2 separate regions of the Homo sapiens genome follow, and region 1 is linked to region 2. The links are contacts of gene promoters, found by promoter capture Hi-C in blood cells and fetal thymus (Javierre and others, 2016). All regions are on one chromosome and are shown on one strand. The core of a region is centred on a gene start or on the middle of the fragment in contact, and the rest is flanking DNA. Distances in the headings are between cores, read along the strand shown.

Region 1 (7,060 bases), core at 3,771-6,270, 5.7 Mb after region 2:
AGATGATACATTTTTTTTCTCGTATTAGAAAAAAAATTCCCAGCCAGGCACTGTGACTCATCCCTGTAATCCCAGCATCTAGGGAGGCTGAGGCAGGAGGACTGCTTGAGCCCAGGATTTCAAGACCAGCCTGGGCAACATGGCAAGACCCCCATCTCTACAAAAAAAGAAAAATTCCCAAGTTGATTAGCTTGCTCTCTTCCCCATTATTTTTTCCTCTGAGGTATATTTTTAAAACTTATTTTTTAAACAAAGCACAAAGGTAAAGGTCTTTGCGTGGTATTGCAAAGATCTTTACAAAGTTCTACCATGACTTTTTAAACATTGTTTTAAGCCAGTGGGCATGCTTCCAAAGGAGCTGACTTTTCACTGAATGCTAGAAAATGAAAACATGGGAGCTGTTTAGATTGGCCTGGGAAACATCATGTCCAGTAGCCACTGTTGATCTTTGCATGAAGTAGTTCTGTTTTCTGAAAAGATTCCTTTTGTCCATTGTCTCATTATGATTATGGGGGCCTAGTCCTCTCAACTGGAGAAAGAACTGTTTATCTGTGCGGTATTTGATTAACAATCATTTAGATACACAGTTTAACCACAAAAAGTTACTGAGTTCCTGTTTCTGCTGGGTCCTGTGTTAGGTACCAGGGATGCAGTGAAGTCTAGGGTGTGCTCCCAACCCTCATAAACTGATGGAGGGGCCAGACATGTGAGCAAAGAAATACAGCACAGTATGTGGTCCTGGGGCATTCGCATCAGAGATGTGCATGCAAGGTGCACACGATGACCAGCCATCCCGTCCTTCTTGCTCCTTCTTTTGGTACCTTGTTCCCTCTGCTTTACCAGGAGTTGAAGTTAAGCCAGAGAGAAGTTTGAGGAAATCGAGGCTGGGCAAGGGAGAGGCCTTATCTGAGTGGATAGAAAGTTTTTCAGTTCCCTGGAGAAAGCTTCTGATAATCATGTTCCCAGACAGTAGCCACATACAGGGGCATGGGACTGTCAGGCCTAAAGCTCACTGTCAATTGTGGAGGATTCAGAAGCACTTCATAGATGATGGGGGACTCTGTTCTGAGCAGTCTGTCTCTGTGTGTCTGCCACTGAGCAGTAACTGGTACAAATGCACCCTATGACTAGGTTTTCTTTCTTAGCTGAGAAATCTCTTGAGAAGGCTATGCATTTCTGGTGTGTAGACAGACTTTCTGCAGATGAGTAAGTTATGTCTTAAACAGAGTTCTTGTTGAACTAATGTCACGAAGAGTCTCTGCTAACAAAAACAGCTAACTTTGCATAGCCAAGCCACTCTGCACAACTTAACAATGTTAGTTCTCCAATAGAGCCCTAATAAACAAGTCACACCACTCTTCCCTATGTGGCTTCAAAGAAGTTGATAGTAACAATACAACAACAAAAACAAAAATCAACTTTGTTTCTTATGGAAGCCAGACTGTTAACCAATGGGCCTGTTAACTCTAAACTCTGGATTTGCCCACCCTTTCCCATGTAGCACTGGTGAGAGCAGACCAATTCCATTCATAAAGGCAGAAAGCTGGGGAAGCAGCAGGTAGCACACTTGAAAGCAGGCACTTCGCAGGAGGAAAAAAGGTCAGGCTGAGCCAGCTGAGCATGTGCGGTTTGCCAACTAAGTGAATCCATCCCTCCACTTGCCCTGGGGCGATGTTAGTAAAAGGACATAGAGAGGATAGTAGGATGCATAGGGAAAATTCTTCCTCATCCAAACCACGAGTGGGGAAATGGTGCTTCCCTCTGAGGTGCCTCAAGATTTTACACTTTTTGAGGGTCATGTGCTTAGGTCTTGTGGGGAAGAAGTCAAAGAAAGAGCACATTATGGTTGGGACTCCTATTGATCATCACACCACCTGAAATCTGATCATAGGAGAAATCCAGATTAATAAATTTAACACTTGACATTTACCTATCTTTACTTATATTATCTCACTTATCCCCAAAACCCACTGTGATATTGGTATTAGCACCCTAACAACAAAGAAAGAAATTAAAGCACAAAGAGAAAGCATTTAGCCCACAAGGGTAACTGGTCAAGGGGCAGAGTCTGGACTCAGACCTGCATCTTTCTGGCTCTAAAGGTAGACCTCTTTTCAGTCTTTGAGGAGGATACATGGTTTGCAATTACATGTCTGACTCAATTTCATTTCAAACTTTTTTTTTAACTTGTTATTGGCATGTTTGAGAGAATAGAGTGGGTAGAATCATTAATTATTTGTCTCAATTTTATCTCAGGGTTACCTGCTTTGTGTACCTGTTTTTCATGTAGAAAAATGAGAAATCATCTAGCTAGATGGTTGTCTGTTCTCTCTTGAGAGTTTCTAGAAATGCAGACTTAATCCTTCTGGCAGGATCTCTGGATTCTGATAACAGGAATGATAACAGGAATGATATGGTTTGGCTGTGTCCCCACCCAAATCTCAACTTGAATTTTATCTCCCAAAATTCCCACATATTGTAGGACGGACCCAAGGGGAGATAATTGAATCATAAGGGCCGGTCTTTCCCGTGCTATTCTTGTGATAGTGAATAAGTCTCACGAGATCTGATGGGTTTATCAGGGGTTTCTGCTTTTGCTTCTTCCTCATTTTCTCTTGCTGCTGCCGTATAAGAAGTGCCTTCTGCCTCCCACTATGATTCTGAGGCCTCCCCAACCATGTGGAACTCTAAGTCCAATTAAACCCCTTTTTTCTTCCCAGTTTTGGGTATGTTTTTATCAGCAGCATGAAAATGGACAAATATAGTAAATTGGTACCAGTAGAGTGAGGCGTTGCTGAAAAGATACCCGAAAATGTGGAAGTGACTTTGGAACTGGGTAACAGGCAGAGGTTGGAACAATGTGAAGGGTTCAGAAGACAGGAAAATGTGGGAAAGTTTGGAACCTCCTAAAGACTTGTTGAATGGCTTTGACAAAAATGCTGATAGTGATGTGAACAATAAGGTCCAGGCTGAAGTGGTCTCAGATGGAGATGAGGAACTTGTTGGGAACTGGAGCAAAGGTGACTCTTGTTATATTTTAGCAAAGAGACTGGTGGCCCTAGAGATTTGTGGAACTTTGAACTTGAGAGAGATGATTTAGGGTAACTGGCGGAAGAAATTTCTAAGCAGCAAAGCTTTCAGAAGGTAACTTGGGTGCTGTTAAATGCATTCTGTTTTAAAAGAGAAACAGAGCGTAAAAGTTCAGAAAATTTGCAGCCTGACGATGCAGTAGAAAAGAAAAACCCATTTTTTGAGGAGAAATTCAAGTCGGCTGCATAAGGAGCAAGGAGCCTAATGTTAATCCCTAAGACCATGGGGAAAATGTCTCCAGGCCATGTCAGAGATCTTCATGGCTGCCCCACCCATCACAGGCCCAGAGGCCCAGCAGGAAAAAGTGGTTTTGTGGGCCGGTCCCAGGATCCCCGTGCTGTATGCAGCCTAGGAACTTGGTGCCCTGTGTCCCAGCCATTCCAGCTGTGGCCGAAAGGGCCAACGTAGAGCTCAGGGTGTGGCTTCAGAGGGTGGAAGCCCCAGGCCTTGGCAGTTTCCACGTGGTGTTGAGCCTGTGGGTGCACAGAAGTCAAGAATTGAGGTTTGGAAACCTCCCCCTAGATTTCAGAAGATGTGTGGACATGCCTGGATACCCAGGCAAAAGTTTGCTGCAGGGGCGGGACCCTCATGGAGAACCTCCGCTAGGGCAGTGCAGAAGGGAAATGTGGGGTTGGAGCCCCCACACAGAGTCCCTACTGGGGCACTGCTTGGTGGAGCTGTAAGAAGAGGGCCATCGTCTTCCAGACCCCAGAATGGTAGATCCACTGACAGCTTGCACTGTGCACCTGGAAAAGCCACACACACTTAATGCCAGCCCATGAAAGCAGCCAGCAGGGAGGCTGTACCCTGCAAAGCCACAGGGGTGGAGCTTCCCAAAATAATGGGAACCCACTTCTTGCAGCAGCATGACCTGGATGTCAGACCTGGAGTCAAAGGAGATCATTTTGGAGCTTTAAAATTTGACTGCCCTGCTGGATTTCGGACTTGCATGGGCCCTGTAACCCCTTTGTTTTGGCCAATTTCTCCCATTTGGAACAGCTGTATTTACCCAATACCTGTACGCACATTGTGTCTAGGAATTAACTAGCTTGCTGTTGACTTTGCAGGCTTATAGGTGGAAGGGACTTGCCTTGTCTCAGATGAGACTTTGGACTATGGACTTTTGGGTTAATGCTGAAATGAGTTAAGACTTTGGGTGACTGTTGGGAAGGCATGATTGGTTTTGAAATGTGAGGTCGTGAGATTTGGAGGGGCCAGGGGCAGAATGATATGGTTTGGCTGTGTCCCCACCCAAATCTCAACTTGAATTATATCTCCCAGAGTTCTCACATGCTATGGCAGGGACCCAGGGGGAGATAATTGAATCATGGGGGCCAGTCTTTCCCATGCTATTCTCGTGATAGTGAATAAGTCTCACGAGATCTGATGGGTTTATCAGGGGTCTCTTTTTTTGCTTCTTCCTCATTTTTCTCTTGCTGCTGCCATGTAAGAAGTGTCTTCCACCTCCCGCCATGATTCTGAGGCCTCCCCAGCCATGTGGAACTGTAAGTCCAATTAAACCTCTTTTTGTTCCCATTTTCAGGTATGTCTTTATCAGCAGCATGAAAATGAGCTAATATAAAAAATAACTTTTTAAACAGTTTAGAAAGTCATTTCTGTTATCAGAATACAGAGGTTGTAACTGGATTATAACCAGGAATGTAATGTGTTAAATGTAGAGTATTTATATGCTATTCTGAAAAGTGTTTGAGGGATTAGTGGGAGGGCATGGTGGATATAATTTGCCCAAATTCATGAAATAAGCCATATTGCATTAGATTTATTATATGCAAAAAAATACTGGAACTCCCTCAAAATATTAGGGTAAGTGTGTTATAAATGTTGGGGAATATTGTTAACTCATTATCAAATCACTGAGGTTAATATTATTTCTTTTTGCCTGAGAATTAGAAGTCCACCCAAATTAAGCAAGAATGAAGCATTTTCTTTCTTTCTTTCCTCCTATGCAGGGCTTCCATTGCCACCGTGCCCCCCACCCCTACCACCTCCTGCCTATTTCTTATTCGTAAACACACATTTGCATTGAACTGAATCATTTTCTGTTTCTCACATCATTTCTTGATATTAAGTCAAAAGTCATAGTTTCTTTTATCAGTCACTATGTCAATAACCATATAATTGTTTTCCATTTGTGAAGCACTTTCACTGGCAATATCTCTTCTAATTTTCACAGTAACCTTACAATAAAGGTAAGCACCATTAACCGTTATCCTTATTATTTTTTTCTTTTTTCTTTTTTTTGAGACAGGGTCTCATGCTGCTGCCCAGGCTGGAGCACGGTGGTGCAATCATGGCTCACTGCAGTCTGGACATCCCCAGGCTCAGGTGATCCTCCCACCTCAGCCTCCCAAGTAGCTGGGACTACAGGCGTGTCCCACTGGGCTAATTTTTGTATTTTTTGTAGAGATGAGGTTTTGCCATGTTGCCTAGGCTGGTCTCGAACTCCTGGGCTCAAGCAATCAGCCTGGCTCAGCTTCCCAAAGTGTTAGGATTACAGACGTGAGTCACTGTGCCCAGCCACCATCATCTTTAAAGAAGACAAAACTGAGATTCATAAAAAGTGTCTGTTCAAAGACATAGCCAGCTAAAGTCATTGCCAGAATTTGAATCCAGGTCTTTTGAATCTAGACCGCGAAGTTTCCAGAAATAGATCTCTTCTGGAGTGGCACATGACAATGTACATAGGGCTAGGTCTCTGTTTCTCCCATTTCCTCCCTGACCCCCTTAGGTGTACCCCAGAACTTCCTCTGTTTTGTTTTTTTTCTTTAACTACCCAACTGTCTAAAGAGGCACTTTTAAGTAGGTGGTAAGAGGTTTGGAGTCAGCTTGGCTACTTACTGGTTCTGTGATCAGGATATAGCTTCAATCTCACTGTGTCTCAGTTTCCTTAAGCGTAAATTAGGTATAATAATAATAATACCTATTCATAAGGTTGTGAAAACTAAAATAAATAGGAAGTCCTTAATAAATACCATTGTTAATATTATATAATTAGAATTTTAGGCATCCTAAGATAGATTCTAGGTGACTGGTCTCTCAAGAATCTGACTCTCTAGTAAAACTTGTATCATAATATGATTCAAATGATGAACATGATGATAGCAACAACCACTATACTATATTCAGTACTTGCTAATGCTAAGTGTTTTACGTAAACTGTTTGAATTCTTGCAGCAACCCTGCAAAAGCTGTGTGCTGTTAGCCACTGGGCTTTAGTGCCTCTTAATCTTGCCTGCTCTTGGTGTTAATTTTACCTATCCCCTGTCAAACTTAAACTTATGATCTTTTGAAAATTCAAACTGTATTTTCGAATTTCCAGTCTTCTTGCCCATTTTGTGTTCTCCACCTTCCTGCAAAGATCTTTTGCAATGGTTCCAGATGTCATACATAAGTTCTCATGGTGCTAGGGCTAGAAATTTTTCAGACTTTGAGACTCAAGTTCACTTAGTGGCTAAGAGTAAACAAGTCTGTTGTCAGTTACAGGATCCAACTTCCTTGAATTTGAACCTTTTTCCTTTAAGACTTTTCCAAGAAAGGATTGACATACGCTGTTTCAAAGAAAAAGAAAGGGTAACTGACAATGACCTTTATCCCAGTATCCACTGAAGGTTCAGAGTGATATCATATCAGCTGATATACACCCATGCTTTATAAAGTAAAAATACTTATCTCAATATCCGTTCAAGGTTCAGAGTGACATCATATCAGCTGATATACACTCATGCTTTAAAAAGTAAAAATACTTACATTTTTTACCTGCCTTAATTTTTTATTTCAGCTATAACTTAAGCTTTATCTGTAGTTCTCATCCCATCCCCCATTCTTCTACCCTCACCTGACTTAGATATTGTTTTTTTCAATTCACGTGTCTTTCTTTAAGCCACAAAAATGAATATTTTCCAGCTAGTCTAAATATCTGGAAATAATATACCAAATCTCTCACTGACTT
Region 2 (6,838 bases), core at 3,561-6,060:
TACCTGCAGTACAAAGCTTTTCTTTTCTCAAAAACCAGGTGTCACAGTATTGGTTTCTAGAACATTGGGCAGTGAGTGCTTTTGCGCTTTGGTCGGTAACACCTGGATCTGATTTAGACAATACTTTGGACCTGAAGTCTTAATTAGTTGAACTTTTGGGGGATTTTAAGAAGACACTAATGTATTTTACCTGTGAGAAGAATCTAAATAATCTGTGGCCATTGGGCAAACTACTGTGGAATAAAGGTGCCTGACAATTCTTTGTCCCTCCTCCCATCAAGAGGTGGAGTCAGCCAGGTGAAATGGCTCATGCTGGTAATCTCAGCACTTTGGGAGGCCAAAGCAGGAAGACTGCGTGAGCTCAGGAGTTCGAGACTAGCCTGAGCAATATCGCAACATCTCATCTCTACTAAAAATTTTAAAATTAGCTGGACGTGGAGGCGCATCCCGGTAGTCCCAGCTACTCGGGAGGCTGAGGCAGGAGAATCACTTGAGCCCAGGAGTTTGACGTTATAGTGACCTATGATCACACCACTGCACTACAGGCTGGTTGATAAAGGAAGATCCTGTCTAAAAAAAAAAGTAAAAACAAGAGGCCGAGCCAGTTTTATTCCCCTTGAATCTGGCCTGCCCTATAAACTTGTTTTAAGCAAAAGAATGCTTTAGAAGTGATGCTAAGGCTGGGCTTTCAGGGATCTCCATCTTCTGTATTTTTGAAATGCTCCTTTTTGGAATGCTTCCTCTAGTTTGTGAGGAAACCCAAGCAGCCACATGGAGAGTCCTTTGTGGAGAGATCCAAGTGGAGAATGAAGGCCCCATGACCCAACCCATTCTGAGTTTCCAGCCCCCAGACAGCCCCAACTGCCATTCACATGAGTGAAGCCATTTTGGAACTTCCAACTGTGCCAGTGCCTCAGCTGACACCATGTGAGGCAAAGCTGCCCAGCCAACTGCAAAACTGCGAGAAATTGTTGCTTCAAAACAGTAAGTTTTGGGGTAGGTGTTACGCTGCAATAGATGACTGAAATAACTGTCTACCATGTGCCGGGCACTATTTGATGCCCTTCTGATCCATGAGGGTAAAAACAGAAATGTAACCTGGCAGGTGCAGAAGAGGGCGCCATAGGAGGGCAGAGGAAGGCCAGCTGCAGGGAGAAGCAGGGAGCTGGTGATTCTGGGCAGATGAGCACATGGATGGGCCAACGGCCAAGCCCCCATGCCAGCTTTTGGCCAATCAGCACTGCAACTTCCTCCTGCATTTGTCTCGCCGGATGGGATTAATTTTTCACCTGACGAAGTAGAGAGTGGAAAAGAGCTGGAGACAGTGGGGAGAAAGGTTGCCTGGGTCTGTCTCACTAGCACCAGTTAATGTCTGGACTGCTGGACAATGTTGTCCCAAAGGTTTCTGGGCCATCTGTATTATTTGTAATTGACTGCTTCTAGGTGCCTGTGGATCAGGGGCAGCTGAGACTAGTGCTCAGGCCTCAGTGGACTCTGCAAGTTCCTGAGGGATAGGCAATCAGCAAGTGTTGTTCCTTTTCCTCGATTTCTGGCCACGTGTGTCCTGGGACAGGTCTGTGATTCTTAATAACCCCCGCAGTCCTGTCTCCTGGCTATCATCTATACCAATGGAAGACACATCCCCATTTCCCCCTCCACTTAATTTTCAGTTGCAGGACTAATCTGACCCACCCTCACTCATTGGCCAGGCCGACTTTACCCCTAGACACAGGATGCTGGGGTCAGCTTCACCTTTACCAACTCCTTGGAGAACTCCACTTTACGTTCTAAACTAAGTTAGCAATAATTTTTCCCTTCTCTCCTTCCCACATCATTAAGATGATCACAGTATTTAAAAAGTATTTTAACAAATATCGGCCGGGCACGGTGGCTCACAACTGTAATCCCAGCACTTTGGGAGGCCGAGGCAGGCAGATCACGAGGTCAAAAGATTGAGACCATTCTGGATAACACGGTGAAACCCCATCTCTACTAAAAATACAAACAAATTAGCCGGGCATGGTGGCAGGCACCTGTAGTCCCAGCTACTTGGGAGGCTGAGGCAGGAGAATGGCGTGAACCCAGGAGGCAGAGCTTGCAGTGAGCCAAGATCACGCCACTGCACTCCAGCCTGGGTGACAGAGTGAGACTCCGTCTCAAAAAAAAAAAAAAAAAAATCTAGGGGCTGAAGATACAGTAGTGAACAAGAGAGAAATTTCCTGTTCTCATGAAGCTGATTTTCTAATGAGGGAGGCAAGACAACAGAAAATAAATGCATAATGTTGGGTAGTTGATATCCACTCTGAAAAAAATCAAGCAGGTTAAGGCCGGGCGCGGTGGCTCACGCCTGTAATCCCAGCACTTTGGGAGGCCGAGGCGGGCGGATCACCTGAGGTCAGGAGTTTGAAACCAGCCTGGCCAACATGGTGAAATCCGTCTCTACTAAAAACACAAAAAATTAGCCCGGCGTGATGGCAGGCACCTGTAATCCCAGCTACTCAAGAGGCTGAGGCAGGAGAATCGCTTGAACCCGGGAGGCAGAGGTTGCAGTGAGGTGAGATTGCACCATTGCACTCCAACCTGGGGGACAAAAGCAAGACTTTGTCTCAAAAAAAAAAAAAAAAAAATTCAAGCAGTTTAAGCAGATTTGGGCAGGAGGCCATTCTGCATAAGGTAGTCTGAAAAGGTCTCTGTCATAAGGTGACATTTAAGAGACCTGAATTGAATGAAATATTGGGGACAAGTGTTTCAGGCTAAATGAACAGCAAGTACAAAGGCCCTGAGGCAGGAAGAAATATGGCAAGTTCAAGGAATAGCTATCAGGCTAGTGTGGCTAAGGCAGGTCCAGCATGGTAGAGTGACAGATGTGGGTGGGGAGGGAAATAGGAACCAGATTGAACAGGGTTTCTGTGGATTTGGTTCTGAACAAAATGGCATGATCTGATTTATGCTTACAAAGATTTCCTGGATGCTCTGTGGAAAACAGACTAGGGAGGAGGAATGGAGGAGGTGGAAGCAGGGTGACCAATTAGTAGCTGCCATATAACCCAGGGCAAGATGATGGTGGCTTGATCGAGGATGGTTACATCAGAGTTGGCTGGTGGTGAATTTTGATGTTTTGAAGGTAGCACTGACAAAGCTGGCTGAGGGCTTGCAAATGGCATTGAGAGCAAGAGAAGCACATCAAGGACACCTTTTAGATTCTGGGGAACTGAATAAACAATAGTATCACTCTCTGAGGGAGGTAAGAACGGGAGTGGTGTGTAAGGAGTAGGTTGCTGAGGGCAAGATGTATTGTGTTTGAGATGCCAGTAAAATAAGCAGTTGAATCTGGAGGTCAGGGAAGAGATCTGGGCTGGAGACAAATCAGTGATCAGCATTTGGATATTATAAATCATTCCGAGGCAGTAAGTGTAGACACAAAAGAACATCATGGACTATGGCTGGGGCCTTCAGCAACTGGGGAAGAAGTCCAGAGAGGAGACAGAAATGGCCAGTGAAGTGAGGAAGATCAGAAGGACCTGGTGTCCAGGAAGTCAAGTGAGGAAAGTTGATTCTGTATGATCACAACCAAAGTGTCAACTCATAAGCCTTATTTTCTCATCTGTGAAATGGACACCGTAACACCACCTACTTCATGGCAGATAGTACTGGCACACAGCAAACTCTCAAAATAAGGTAGCTACTGTTATTCCCTGATGGTTGGCTGCCAGAGCCCTCAACTTCCCTATCCACATTACTGACAGCACCTCCATGAGTCTTTCTCTGGGGTGAGGTGTCTCTGCTCACTCAGGGCCTGAGGCCTCTGGGTCAAATCGAGGTCAAGTGGCTTCAGTGCCTAAGTCTCTCACCCACACAGCCTTCAGCCCTTACTTGCAAATCAACAAAGGGTAAACCTGTAGAAAACATGGGTTTCGGAGCCAGAATTCTGCCTCTTGCCAGCTGTGGGCTCTTAGGAAAGTTTCTTAATCTGCCGGGGCCCCACTCTACGACATGGGGAGAACTGCTACTTCATGGGACAGTGGGTAGCCCAGTGTAGACTGTAACGCCGGCTGATCTCCTGCACGCTGGCCTGGGAGTTAGAGGCTTCTTGCTGCTCTCCTCTTCAAAGTATACAGGACTCCCGCCACACACACATCTGGAACCAAGCTGGTCTGAGAGCCCCTTATAGCCCAGGCTACCTGATGGGGAGGCACAGAAGTGGCAACCCGTCCACTTTCTTTGCCGCAGGACCCCCCGTTAAGCAGCGGGGTCCAGCCGGGCTGAGTTAGGGAGGGGGTTTCGAACGTGCCACTCCTCGCCCGGCGTCGAAGCCCGTTTCCTGGGTAACCTTTTTCTGCCTCTCTTCCTAGCCCACCAAGGCCCACTGGCCAGAACGCCGCCGCGGCCCCAAACCACTCCAGATAACCACCCGCCAGCTGTCCTCTCCGTTCTCTCCGCCGCCGCGCTGCAGGCCCAGGCTCGCACCCGAGTCCCTTCGCACCCCAGGAAGTGGCGCGGCCTGTCGAGGGCAGCGTGGAGGAGGAAGAGGAGGCGCGGCTCAACGCGACCGAAGCTCCGCCGCAAAGGCTCGGGAGGAAGAGGGCGGTGCGCGGCCAAGCGTCGGAGCTGCAGTCATACTCCGGGGACCCCACGACGGCGCCCCGCCCGCTGCCCACCCTCCCGAGGCCCCGCCCAGCGCGCCCATCCCGCCACGGGCTGCCCCGCCTTCCCGCCCTCGTCCAGAAAACCCCGCGCCCGGCCCCGCCCCCGCCTTCGCCGGGGCCCCGCCCCTCCCCTCTCCGCCGGCGCCTCGGGCGGCTTCTCGCCGCTCCCAGGTCTGGCTGGCTGGAGGAGTCTCAGCTCTCAGCCGCTCGCCCGCCCCCGCTCCGGGCCCTCCCCTAGTCGCCGCTGTGGGGCAGCGCCTGGCGGGCGGCCCGCGGGCGGGTCGCCTCCCCTCCTGTAGCCCACACCCTTCTTAAAGCGGCGGCGGGAAGATGAGGCTTCGGGAGCCGCTCCTGAGCGGCAGCGCCGCGATGCCAGGCGCGTCCCTACAGCGGGCCTGCCGCCTGCTCGTGGCCGTCTGCGCTCTGCACCTTGGCGTCACCCTCGTTTACTACCTGGCTGGCCGCGACCTGAGCCGCCTGCCCCAACTGGTCGGAGTCTCCACACCGCTGCAGGGCGGCTCGAACAGTGCCGCCGCCATCGGGCAGTCCTCCGGGGAGCTCCGGACCGGAGGGGCCCGGCCGCCGCCTCCTCTAGGCGCCTCCTCCCAGCCGCGCCCGGGTGGCGACTCCAGCCCAGTCGTGGATTCTGGCCCTGGCCCCGCTAGCAACTTGACCTCGGTCCCAGTGCCCCACACCACCGCACTGTCGCTGCCCGCCTGCCCTGAGGAGTCCCCGCTGCTTGGTAAGGACTCGGGTCGGCGCCAGTCGGAGGATTGGGACCCCCCCGGATTTCCCCGACAGGGTCCCCCAGACATTCCCTCAGGCTGGCTCTTCTACGACAGCCAGCCTCCCTCTTCTGGATCAGAGTTTTAAATCCCAGACAGAGGCTTGGGACTGGATGGGAGAGAAGGTTTGCGAGGTGGGTCCCTGGGGAGTCCTGTTGGAGGCGTGGGGCCGGGACCGCACAGGGAAGTCCCGAGGCCCCTCTAGCCCCAGAACCAGAGAAGGCCTTGGAGACTTCCCTGCTGTGGCCCGAGGCTCAGGAAGTTTTGGAGTTTGGGTCTGCTTAGGGCTTCGAGCAGCCTTGCACTGAGAACTCTGGTAGGGACCTCGAGTAATCCACTCCCTTTTGGGGACTGACGTGAGGCTCCCGGTGGGGAAGGAGACTGACCTCTCGGTTCACGTGTCTTGCCATAGAGCCACTCTCCTGAGTGGGTTTTTCTCCTGATCGTTTGGGCCAAGTGACTTCTCTCTGAACCTCATATTTCTCTTCTGGGATAATAAATGGTCACCCTTTCAAGGGGTTGTTTTGGAAGATATTGTGAACAATGGTAAATAAGGGCTTAATTAATGAGGGTAAGCCCTCAGTAAATTGTCACTGTGTGTTCATTTCTTCCTCTGTGTGGATCGTGACCGAGAGCCCTTCCCCCTAGCCTCCTCCTGGTATGGGTACCCAAAACCTAGGTGAGCAGGGATCTCTCCCAGGGGCAGAGAGCTTGTGTACTCTGGGTGTTAGAGGGCTAAAATATAACCAGTCAACACCACGTTGCCCATTTCTGGTACTTCCGGTAGCAGCCTGAGTCTCAATTATCTTGCCCAGATGATCTGAACTCTGACCTCTAGCCTGTTTCAGCATAGGCAGAGAGCTTGAGTAGGTGAGTTTGCATTCCTCATAGCAGCTGGCTGAGCCTAGTCTGGACTTCTCTTTGACCTGTAACCTACAGGCCCACAGGCCCAAGGCAACCACAGGTTGCTTCCAGGGTTACCACACAGGTGGTTTCTCATTTCTAATGCTAGGTTTTAGATAATTGTTGTAAGTGAGGGGCCCTGGCAGGCAGGATGACATCCTGCCAATAGGAGTTTTCTGTCACTTTCCCACAGAGCCCTGGCTACTACATACTCTTGCTCAATTTCGCCAGTAATTGCGTCAATGTGTTCATATCAAGTTTGGGAAGAACATCTTGGAATTGGTCAGACGTGAACTGTGGTAATAATGGGGGCTTGTTTTTTTAAGCAGATAATTAAATTCCTTTGCATTTGATGATTATTCTGGGAAGCAGACTAGTCCCATAAAATGAAATGGACTCTGCCTTGCTGCTAAGTGTCTGACTTGAGACATGCTATCGAGTTTCTCAAAATCTCTTCCTTGTGTAAAATGTGGTTGTCGATGATTACCTTACAGGGGTTTTTTT

What was found. The method cuts DNA at HindIII sites, captures the fragments that hold promoters and counts their contacts. A CHiCAGO score of 5 or more calls a contact.
Region 1: a contact is called between a fragment that was not itself captured here and the fragment with the promoter of B4GALT1 in region 2, in 1 of 17 cell types (M0 macrophages). The highest score is 7.8, in M0 macrophages.

What each region holds. Positions count from the first base shown.
Region 1 is chr9:27,462,249-27,469,308 of GRCh38, reverse strand. All of the region lies in intron 1 of MOB3B (MOB kinase activator 3B), which reads left to right. Among named protein-coding and RNA genes, the nearest start is that of IFNK, 59 kb to the left of the region's middle. RefSeq lists an enhancer at 3,559-4,060. The HindIII fragment of the contact is 3,767 bases long and covers 3,137-6,903 here.
Region 2 is chr9:33,165,308-33,172,145 of GRCh38, reverse strand. It overlaps B4GALT1 (beta-1,4-galactosyltransferase 1), which reads left to right and starts at 4,810. Exons shown (of 6, transcript NM_001497.4): 1 at 4,810-5,388. The coding sequence starts at 4,977. It overlaps B4GALT1-AS1 (B4GALT1 antisense RNA 1), which reads right to left and starts at 5,198. Exons shown (of 3, transcript NR_108110.1): 1 at 5,100-5,198. RefSeq lists enhancers at 4,227-4,306, 3,829-4,393, 4,377-4,476, 4,394-4,959 and silencers at 4,627-5,026, 4,785-5,058. The HindIII fragment of the contact is 9,103 bases long and covers 19-6,838 here.